2 separate regions of the Homo sapiens genome follow, and region 2 is linked to region 1. Evidence: promoter capture Hi-C in human tissues and cell types (Jung and others, 2019). All regions are on one chromosome and are shown on one strand. Each heading gives the region's core, a stretch centred on a gene start or on the middle of the fragment in contact. The rest is flanking DNA. Distances are from core to core; before and after follow the strand shown. Region 1 holds the start of ZNF816 (zinc finger protein 816). Region 2 has its middle 8.5 kb from the start of PPP2R1A.

The links. Contacts are between HindIII fragments. The study calls those that stand out against the background at their distance.
Region 2: a contact is called between a fragment that was not itself captured here and the fragment with the promoter of ZNF816 in region 1, in 1 of the 25 tissues and cell types used here (spleen).

Annotation. Positions count from the first base shown.
Region 1 is chr19:52,960,681-52,966,095 of GRCh38, reverse strand. ZNF816 (zinc finger protein 816) reads left to right here and starts at 3,215. Exons shown (of 4, transcript NM_001202457.3): 1 at 3,215-3,369. It overlaps ZNF816-ZNF321P (ZNF816-ZNF321P readthrough), which reads left to right and starts at 3,215. Exons shown (of 4, transcript NM_001202473.2): 1 at 3,215-3,379. RefSeq lists a silencer at 2,988-3,187 and an enhancer at 3,248-3,497. The HindIII fragment of the contact is 7,894 bases long and covers 1-5,415 here.
Region 2 is chr19:52,178,837-52,184,251 of GRCh38, reverse strand. No RefSeq gene overlaps it. Among named protein-coding and RNA genes, the nearest start is that of PPP2R1A, 8.5 kb to the left of the region's middle. The HindIII fragment of the contact is 6,111 bases long and covers 1-5,415 here.

The DNA.
Region 1 (5,415 bases), core at 1,966-4,465:
TGTCAGACAAACCTGCCTCCCATTTTATTCCTAAAAGAGACAGCTACAAGGATTTTTTACAAAGCTACATAGAGGCTGGGTATGGTGGCTCAGGCCTCTAATCCCAGCACTTTGGGAGGCTGCGGTGGGTGGATCGCCTGAGGTCGGGAGTTCGAGACCAGCCTGACTAACATGGAGGTACCCCGTCTCTAGTAAAAATAGAAAATTAGTCAGGCATGGTGGCATATGCCTGTAATACCTGCTACTCGGGAGGCTGAGGCAGGAGAGTCACGTGAACCCAGGAGACAGAGGTTGTAGTGAGCCGAGACCACACCATTTCACTCCAGCCTAAGCAATGAGAATGAAACTCCATCTCAAAGATGAATAAATGAATACATAGATACATAAATATTTAAAATATAAAGATGAGGTTTCACCATGTGCCTGGGCTGGTCTCCAACTTTTGGCCACTAGCTATCTTTCTGCTTCGGTCTCCCATCATGCTGGAATTACATGCACGAGCCACCATCCCTGGCCACATTATGCTTTTTTAAACTTGCTAATATTTTAGATATGCTAATTTCTTCCTAAACATAATTATGTTTTAGCTAATTACTAGTATTTGATAAATGAAACCTTCGATAACTAGGGATGTGAGTGAAAAATATAGTTCATAGTACATGTTAACTTACAGATATTGCCATAAAATTATTGCATGCAGAAATGCGGTGATGTAAAAGTTTATAATTTTTTTTTTCTTTTTTTGAGATGCAGTCTCACTCTGTTGCCCAGGCTGGAGTGCAATGGTGAGATGTCAGCTCACTGCAACCTCTGCTGCCTGGGCTCAAGCAATTCTCCTGCCTCAACCTCTTGAGTAGCTGAGATTACAGGCGCATGCCACCATGCCCAGCTAATTTTTGTATTTTTAGTACAGATGGGGTTTCGCTGTGTTGGCCAGGCTGATCTCAAACTCCTGACCTCAGGGTGATCCATTCGCCTAGGCCTGCCAAAGTGCTGGGATTACAGGTGTGAGCCATCACACCCAGCCAATTTTGTAATTTAGTTATATTTTCTTCAGGGCCCACGTAAAACAGAATAACCTGACTGCAATGTATCCTTAGTAATATCTCATAATTATTCTCTATATGAAAATAAATCCCAATGTTTGAAGACTGCCTATTTTACAGCCTTTGTTGTTCACACCTGATAGAACACTTAGGAGAGAACAACAAAGAAAACACCCAAAATAGATTACAATTGGATGGGTGTGGTAGCTCGCCTTTAATCCCAACACTTTGGGAAGCTAAGGTGGGAGGATTGTTTGAGTACAGGAGTTCAAGGCCAGCCTAAGCATCATAGTGGACCCCCGACTCTACAAAATATTAAAAAATTAGCCAGGCCTGGTGGTGAGGGCCTGTGGCCCCAGCTAGTTGGGAGGTGAGACGGGAGGATTGCTTGAGCCCCAGAGGTTGAGGTTGCAGTGGGCAGTGTTCCCACCACTGCATTCCATCCTGGGTGTCAGAACTAGGTCCTGTTTCTAGGGAAAAAAAAATTACAACTTGAAGATAAAAAGTACATTTTCTACTTATTTTCAGAAGGCACGTAAAGTGAATTTGATATTACAATACACTTAGGAATTATTTTTTAAAAAAAGAATTTGAGAATGAGGACCAAGGTCTAATTTTTTTCTCTTGCCCAAATTCCTATCTAAAGGGTCTGGGGAGTCATGCCCTACAAACCATAAATACTCATCAGATGGGTTTTATTTAGTCCTATATATCCTGTCTTACTTTCCAGTCTGACTCTGGAATAACGTGACAAAGAAGAAAGTCAAAATATTTTACCCCAAAACATGTTTCTGTGCCATATTTTGAAATGGTCCTGCAAAGCTGTTCTTTGTGAGGGGTACATGTGCATTTGTAAAGAATCTCTGTTAACATAGCTAGATCTTTTTCTTCTAGGCCCTACCAATCCTGAAGAGATTAAGTAAGAATCTCGCACTGTTTAAAGGTCTGAATAGAAAACACTTATCATCTATTATCTCTAAGGGCAGCCAATAGAAGACTTGAAAACAACATTGGTCTCCACAATCTTTTACCTTAACGTGAACATTTCCTCTCCGTTGATCCCAGGTATTTAGACAAACTCAACCAATTGTCAATCAGAAAATGTTTCAATTTACCTGTAGCCCAGAAGTCCCCGCTTTGAGTTGCCCCTCCTTTCTGAACCAAAGCAGCGTATTTCTTAAATGTATTTGATTGATGTCTAATGCCTCCCTAAAATGTCTAAGAACAAGCTGTTCCCCATCACCTTGGACACATGTTCTCAGGACCTCCTGAGGGTCATTCATATTTAGCTTAGAATAAATCTCTTAAGATATTTTACAGTTTGATTCTTTTCCACGACAAAAATAACTCATTTTAAGTGCAGCATGAAATAATAAACGTAAGAAACAACTGGGCAACTTATATGCACTGTTACAATGTCAGTGCTTTTTTTAAATCACTTTTTTGTTTATTGAGACGGAGGAGGGAGCTCTGGGATAGAGGGTCTTACTTTGTCGCCCAGGCTGGCCTGGAACTCCAGGCTCAGCGATCCTCTCGCCCCTGCTTCCTGAGTAGCGGGGACCCCAGACTCCTGCCACCCCGCCCGCATCCCTGCTGTGTTTAAGCACACTCCTCTGCTCCGCACCCCAGACGGTGGCCCTAGGGAAGTCTCAGGAGCTGAGCACAGTGTGGACTCTCCCACTCCAGTGAATGGAGAATTGAAAGGGAGAGGATTTCTATTCTGTTCTGTGGACCGTCAGCATGAAATTGTACCTTTCGCTCAGGCAAGGCTTTGCATTTCGCATTCTAGTTTGCATTCCTGCCGTAGACAACTTCCAGGCTTTGGAATTAAATTGCTAAAATAAATTTCAATAGCAAGGAACTTTCCCGGATCCAATTACCGCCACACGGCGACTTCTCAGGGAGGTACTATTTCCCTGACTGCTGAGCTGCTCCAGCCTCACTGGCGGGTTTCACCTCTAAAACCTTGAAAACAGAGGCGCGGAGAGCGAGATGGAGAAAAGCTCAGGCCCCGCCCCTTTCCCGCCCCCGCGGACTCCTCCCAGCCCAAGACTCTTCTCTTCCGCGCCGGGCCCCTTGTCCTTTGCACCCCGCCCCGGCCTCGCCCAGGCCCCGCCCACCTCTCGGGGATCTGGCCCAGGTCCCGCTTCTGTCCTGCGCCGATTGGCACAGACCCGGAAGCGGATGGCGTGGACTGAAAGTTGCACGGCGGCGTGTGCGTTTCCTAGTTGTCTGGTGCTGCTATATAGGGGACGTGGGGTCCCCACAGACCTGCAGGTTCCGGCCCCTCTTTTCTCAACCCAGAGCAAATTGAAACGTCCGGGTGAGAGTCCGTGAGTCGCTTCCTTTTGAGTTTAAAGTTGCCCTGAGGCTGGTCCCGTCCCCGGTCTTTCTGCAGTGGGGCCGTGCAGACACCTCCTGTCGCGAAACTTTCCTTAGCAAAACCCTTTCTGACGCGTCCTCCCGCCTCGCGCTGTTTCAAGTCCTCACCCGGAGCTGGATTCTTGCCCTGGGCAAGAGCGCTTCCCAGCCTCGCTCTAGTCGGCCCCTGGAGCGCAGCGTTGCAGCCCCGCAGCCCCAGGGTGGCCGGTGCTTTGTGGCCACTCCTGGGCTCTTTCCCTTTCCATCTGAGACGTGGTGGAAGTGGGAGGGCTACAGGGAGAGTACCCTTTGATCCTTTGTTACTACGGGTGGGGAGATGGGGTTATTCCTTTTGGTCTAGTTTTGCAAAGTTCACATTAATTGGCCTTAGATTCCCAGAGCCAGGACCCAGATTTTCACTTTTCTTCTTTGTTGTTGGAGATGGGTCTCTGTGCCTACAGACTAGTATAGCCTGTGCCTGGACTAGTATAGTATAGTATAGTCTCTGTGCCTGGACTAGTATAGTCCAGCGGGGGCCGTCCAGTCTCAATGAAATTCTGGATGAGCCTAGGCAGTCTGTAATTTAGAAAATTTACGTAATGAGTTCTTTTCAGTGTGGTTTAAGCCTCACCAAGTGACTGTCCTTGTTGTGCTGTTGTATACAACTTCTGTCCTAGACAATTGAGCTTTCTTACGGGGTTGCTGAAGTTTTTTCTTTCCTTAGCTACATAGTATTGTCTAATAACTGAGGTTTTTAGGACCTAGAAGTTGCTAGTTTGGGCCTTCTGAGCTGGAATTGTGTGAGGAACTGGATCAGTGGGCACCAACTCTCGGGCTTCCTGAGGCCATCGGTCTCCAACAGTAGTTCCTCCGCGTACATAACAAGAAGCAACATTGAGGGAATGAGCTACATTTTCCGTTAACTGGAGAAACAAGTTCCTTGTCTTTTTTGGAAGCTCTGGTGCTGGCAGATTTAGCTCATTATAAAAGGCTTGAAACACTGGTTTGGGAAAGGGCCTGGGGACCTCCCCTCGGACTAAAATGGCAACTTGGGGGGTTACCCTTGTCCTATTGACCGTCAGGATTACACCTTCTCTTTTTCTCTAACGGGGGTCTAGGGAATTAGTGATTATTAGTTCTAGTGGGTTACAGTGACTGCTAGCACAGGAGGGGTTGGCTTCTTTTTTTTGAAAGTGAACCGGGTCTTTTTTGTCATTTTTCTAAGTAGCCTAAATAACACATGGGCAACAGGCAAATTTTCACAGACCTCTGCCTCATGACAAACATTTATTTTCTACTGTGCAGCTCCTTTCTTAGTTAAGAGAGCCACATCTTAATCTGAGCTTGTTACTATTAATGGCTGCACAAGCATCAAATTTAAAGTTTCTTGTTTGGGGATTCTTTTTTCTTCTGTTCTAGTTATTATTTTACTTGTGTCACCTAGGAAAGGACCAGTTCTTAATCTTATTTGAAAAACGGTGGTTGCAGGAGGCTTAGATGGGTTATAACCCATAGTAGGTTTGTCATTTCCTGGGCTACGTACCTTGTATTGAGTGGAATTATACAAATAAGATCCTTTTAACGTGCCTGTACATTCATAATAACTATAGAACAGAAAGATTGTTTTAATTTGCTGTCCTATCTCAGTGACCTGATGAATACACTGGGAACAGTCCTTAGTTTGAGGAAGGTCAGTTGAAGCCTTTACTGTACAAGTCTAAAATTTAAGAAGAATGAGTCCCACGATGAGCTTCCTCATGCTTCCACTGTGCGTAGGACCAGTCAGCTTCCGGGTGTGACTGGAGCAGGGCTTGTCGTCTTCTTCAGGGTCACTTTGCAGGGGTTATCTGGGCTTGGCCTTGCCTCCCAGGTTTCAGGCGCTGCAGGTTTTATATGGCTGTGGTGGATCCAGGCCGGGATTCCTTCTACCTTCACAGCGGTGGGAGTGGTCAGGATGACGGTCTGGGGTACTTTCCAGTGGGGGCACACAGGGGCTACGTTCCAGTCC
Region 2 (5,415 bases), core at 1,734-4,233, 780 kb after region 1:
TGTCTCAGCCTCCCAAAGTGCTGAGATGACAGGCATGAGCCACCGTGCCCAGCCAGGGGATCTTTTTGTTCAGAAGATTGACTATTCCCGTGTATTAAAGGGAAATGTACACTATGTTGGTAGATAATTCTCCCAGGGCATCTCACATATCTTCACATTTTTTAAAGCTTTTGTTCCAGACTATCTTATCAAGAATGTTTTTGGGTTTTTTTTGTTTGTTTGTTTTTTGAGATGGAGTCTTGCTCTGTCATCCAGGCTGGAGTGCAGTGGCTCAATCTTGGCCCACTGCAACCTCCCCCTCCCGAGTTCAAGCAATTCTCCTGCCCGAGCTTCCCGAATAGCTGGGATTACAGGCACGTGCCACCATGCCTGGCTAATTTTTTGTATTTTTTTAGTAGAGACGGAGTTTCACCATGCTGGCCAGGCTGGTCTCAAACTCCTGACCTCATGATCTGCCCATCTCGGCCTCCCAATGTGCTGGGATTACAGGCATGAGCCACCGCGCCCGGCCTGTTTGTGTTTTTTCGTTTGTTTGTTTGTTTGAGACGGAGTTTCGCTCTTGTCGCCCAGGCTGGAGTGCAATGGCACAATCTCGGCTCACTGCAACCTCCACCTCCTGGGTTCAAGCAATTCTCCTGCCTCAGCCTCCCAAGGAGCTAGGATTACAGGCGTCCGCCACCATGCCCAGCTAATTTTTGTATTTTTAGTAGAGACGGGGGTTTTACCATGTTGGCCAGGCTGGTTTCGAACTCCTGATCTCAGGTGATCCACCAGCCTCAGCCTCCCAAAGTGCTGGGATTACAGGCATGAGCCACAGCGCCCGGCCAAGAATGTTTGTATAGCAAACGGTTTAGGAAGATAGCAACAGCGAGTCCCCATGGCCAGAGGCAGATTTGTTGCCTAACCACTGTAAAAAATATATATAATGATGCATATGTCAGAAGCAAAGGTTGGGGAGGTCTTCCTGTGGCCCTCTTAAAAGATTGCTTTATAAGCTCAGGATTCTTCATTCTGGCACACACTCACTGCATTACACACTCACTGTATGCAAAGCATCTGTCCAGACCCTTTCTCATCAGTCCTGTTGGACTTGAAGTGCAAGGGGATTGACGTGAGTATCAAGTTTTTGCTTCTTTGCTGTGTTGTCAGTAATAAAGTCTGTTGGACCTGACACCGGAGTCTTATATCTTCTTCAAGCAACCTTGAATTTTTTATTTTTTTTTTTTTTTATTTTTATTTTTGAGACAGAGTCTCTCTGTTGCCCAGGCTGGAGTGCAGTGGCACAATCTCGACTCACTGCAGCCTCCATCTCCTGGGATTAAGGGATTCTTGTGCCTCAGCCTCCCGAGTAGCTGGGATTACAGGCATGTGCACCACTAAAAATACAAAAATTAGCCAGGCATGGTGGTGGGCTCCTGTAATCCCAGCTACTCAGGAAGCTGAGGCAGGAGAATCGCTTGAACCCAGGAGGTGGAGGTCGCAGTGAGCTGAGATCACACATCACTGCACACCAGCCTGGGCAATAGAGCGGGACTCCGTCTCAAAATATAGAAATAGCCGGGCGCGGTGGCTCACTCCTGTAATCCCAGCACTTTGGGAGGCCGAGGTGGCGGATCATCTGAGGTTGGGCGTTCGAGACGAGCCTGACCAACATGGAAAAACCCCGTCTATACTAAAAATACAAAATTAGCCAGGTGTGGGGGCACATGCCTGTAATCCCAGCTACTCAGGAAGGCTGAGGCAGAAGAATCGCTTGAACCCGGGAGGCGGAGGTTGCAGTGAGCCGAGATCACGCCACTGCACTCCAGCCTGGGCAACAAGAGCAGAACTCCATCTCAAACATAAATAAATAAATAAGCTGGGTATAGTGGCATCTGCCTGCGGTCCCAGCTACTGTACTTGGGAGGCTGAGGTGGGAGGATTGGTTCGGTCCAGGAGATTGAGGTGAGGCTACAGTGAGCCATGAATGTGCCGCTGCACTCCAGCCTGTATGACAGAGCAAGACTCTGCCTCAAAAAAACAAAAGAAAACAGCCGGGCATGGTGGCTCATGCCTGTAGTCCCAGCTACTCAGGAGGCTGAGGCAGGAGAATCGCTTAAACCCTGGAGGTGGAGGTTGCAGTGAGTCGAGATTGTGCCACTACACTCCAGCCTGGGCGACAGAGCGAGACTGTCTCAAAAACAAAATAATATTAACGGGAAATAGTATTGGCAAGGATGTGGAGAAAGGGAACCCTTGTACACCATTGGTGGGAATGTAAATTGGTAGAAAACATTATGGAGGTTCCTCAAAAAATTAAAAATAGAACTACCAGGTGATTCAGCAATCCCCCTTCATGGTATATATCCAAAGGAATGAAATCAATATCTTGGAGAGAGATCTGCACTCCTATGTTTATTGCCACAATAACCAAGATGTGGAAAAAACCTAAATGTTCACTGATAAATGGATAAACACACACACACACACACACACACACTATTCAGCCTTTAAAAAAATGGAAATCTAGGCCAGGCGTGGTGGCTCACGCCCGTAATCCCAGCACTTTGGGAGGCCGAGGCTGGTGGATCACCTGAGGTCAGGAGTTCAAAACCAGCCTGGCCAACATAGTGAAACCCCCGTCTCTACTAAAAATACAAAAAACTAGCCGGGCATGTTGGTGGGTGCCTCTAATCCCAGCTACTCGGCAGACTGAGGGAGGAGAATCGCTTGAACCCAGGAGTTGGAGGTTGCAGTGAGCCGAGATAGGGACATTGCACTCCAGCCTGGGTGACAATAGTGAAACTCCGTCTCAAAAAAAACAGGCCAGGCACAGTGGCTCACGCCTGTAATCCAAGCACATTGGGAGGCCAAGGCGGGCAGAACATGAGGTCAGGAGTTCGAGAGCAGCCTGGCCAGCATGGTGAAACCGCATCTCTACTAAAAAAATACAAAAAAATTAGCTGGGCATGGTGGTGCACACCTGTAATCCCAGCTACTCGGGAGGCTGAGGCAGAAGAGTTGCTTGAACCCAGGAGGTCGAAGTTGCAGTGGACCAAGATCGCACCACTACGCTCCAGCCTGGGCGACAGAGTGAAACTGCGTCTCAAATAAAAAGGAAAAAAACGGAAATCTTGTCATTTGTGATGACTTGGACGAACCTAAGGGACATTATGCAAAGTAAAATAAGACAGACACAGAAAGACAAATAACATATGATCTCGTATGTTTTTTTTTTTTGAGACAGAGTGTCGCTCTGTCACCCAGGCTGGAGTGCAGTGGCACGATCTCAGCTCACTGCAAGCTCTGCTTTCTGGGTTCACGCCATTCTCCTGCCCTCCTGAGTAGCTGGGACTACAGGCGCCCACCCCCATGCCCGGCTAATTTTGTTTTTTTATTTTTAGTAGAGACTGGGTTTCACTATGTTGGCCAGGCTGGTTTTGAACCCCTGAGCTTGTGATCTGCCTGCCTCGGCCTCCCAAAGTGCTTGGATTAGGAGCGTGAGCCACCGCGCCCGGCCGTATGACCTCATTTATATGTGGAATCCAAAATAGTCAAACACACAGAAGCAGAAAGCAGAATAGTGGTTGCAAGAGGCTGAGAGGTGGGAGGAAATGAAAAGGTGTTGGTCAAAGTGTGCAAAGTTTCTCATGAAGAGAAACTTTTTTTTTTTAATTTCATGGGGAAATTAAAAAAGCAAAAAGCAAAAAAACAAAAACAAAAAGGAAAGTGTACAAAGTTTCAGTCCTGCAAGATAAACAAGTTCTGGAGGCCTACCGTACAACATAGGGCACATGATTAACAAATACGGCGTTGTACATTTAAAACTTTGCTGAAAGGGTAGGTCTTATATAAGATCTTATGTTATCACAAAAGGACAAACAAAACCAAAGCGGAGTGAAGAAATGAACTGGAAGGGAATTTTTGGAGGCAATTGATAAGTTTATGGCATTAGTTGTGATAATAGTTTCAAGGATGTATACTTATTTCCAAACACGTGAAGTTGTATACATTAAATATCTACAGTTTTTTATATGTCAATCATACCTCAATAAAGTAGTTTTTCTTTCTTTCTGTCTTTCTCTTTTGAGGTGGAGTTTTGCTCTTGTTGCCCAGGCTGGAGAGCAATGCATGATCTCAGCTCACTACAACCTCCACCTCATGGGTTCAAGCAATTCTCCTGCCAAGTAGCTGGGATTACAGGCATGTGCCACCACGTCTGGCTGATTTTGTATTTTTAGTAGAGATGGGGTTTCACTGTGTTGGTCAGGCTGGTCTCGAACTCCCAACGTCAGGTGATCCAGCCACCTAGGCCTCCCAAAATGCTGGTATTACAGGCATGAGCCACCAGACCTAGCCTAATAAAGCATTTTTTTTTTTTTTTTGAGACGGAGTCTCGCTCTGTCGCTCAGGCTGGAGTGCAGTGGCATGATCTCAGCTCACTGCAAGCTCTGCCTCCCGGGTTCACACCATTCTCCTACCTCAGCCTCTGGAGTAGCTGGGACTACAGGCGCCCACCACCACACCTGGCTAATTTTTTGTATTTTTAGTAGAGACGGGGTTTCACCATGTTAGCTAGGATGGTCTCGATCTCCTGACCTCGTGATCCACCCGCCTCGGCCTCCCGAAGTGCTGGGATTACAGGCATGAGCCACCGTGCCCGGCCATAAAGTAGTTTTTAAAAGCTCAAAGAACCCTGCAGAGCTAAGATTCCTAGGAAAAAAAAAAAAAAAACTTAAAGCAACAAAATAATGTTGCCATTTAAAACTAACTGCTCTCATAAGGGACACAATTATGTTAAAGGGAAGACTCACATTCTCCAAATCAAAATGAGTTTAAGTGTACAAATTGGAGAATAGATTTGGGAGAAAATTGACCTATATAGATGGAGAACATAAAATGTTGAGGGAGAGAGGAACCAGGACAGAGAAGAGCAGGACAGCAGGGTAAGGGGCTGCACAGGTAGAAGGGAAGAGCTTCAAGCCCCCAATGCAAGAGCAGCCCAGAAGGGACTGGAAGAAAAATAATTACAATAAGGTTACGAAACTGTTTCCCATGGAGCTGGATGGCATCTCTTTCCTTGTGTGTCAGCCATGCAGTGTCTTTAATAAAGGCCAGGGTTGGGCACGGTGGCTCACACCTGTAATCCCAACTGTTTGAGAGTCCAAGGCAGGAGGATCACTTGTGGCCAGAAGTTTGAGGCCAACCTGGACAACATAGTAAGACCCCATCTCTCTCTTAAAAAAAAGGCCCAATATGGTGGCTCATGCCTGTAATCCCAACATTTTGAGAGGCCAAGGCAGGAGGATCACTTGACCCTGGGGTTTGAGAACAGCCTGGGCAACATGGTGAGACTTCGTCTCCACAAAAAAATTCAAAAATTAGCCAGGCATGGTGGTGTGTGCCTGTGTTCCCAGCTACTCAGGAGGCTGAGAC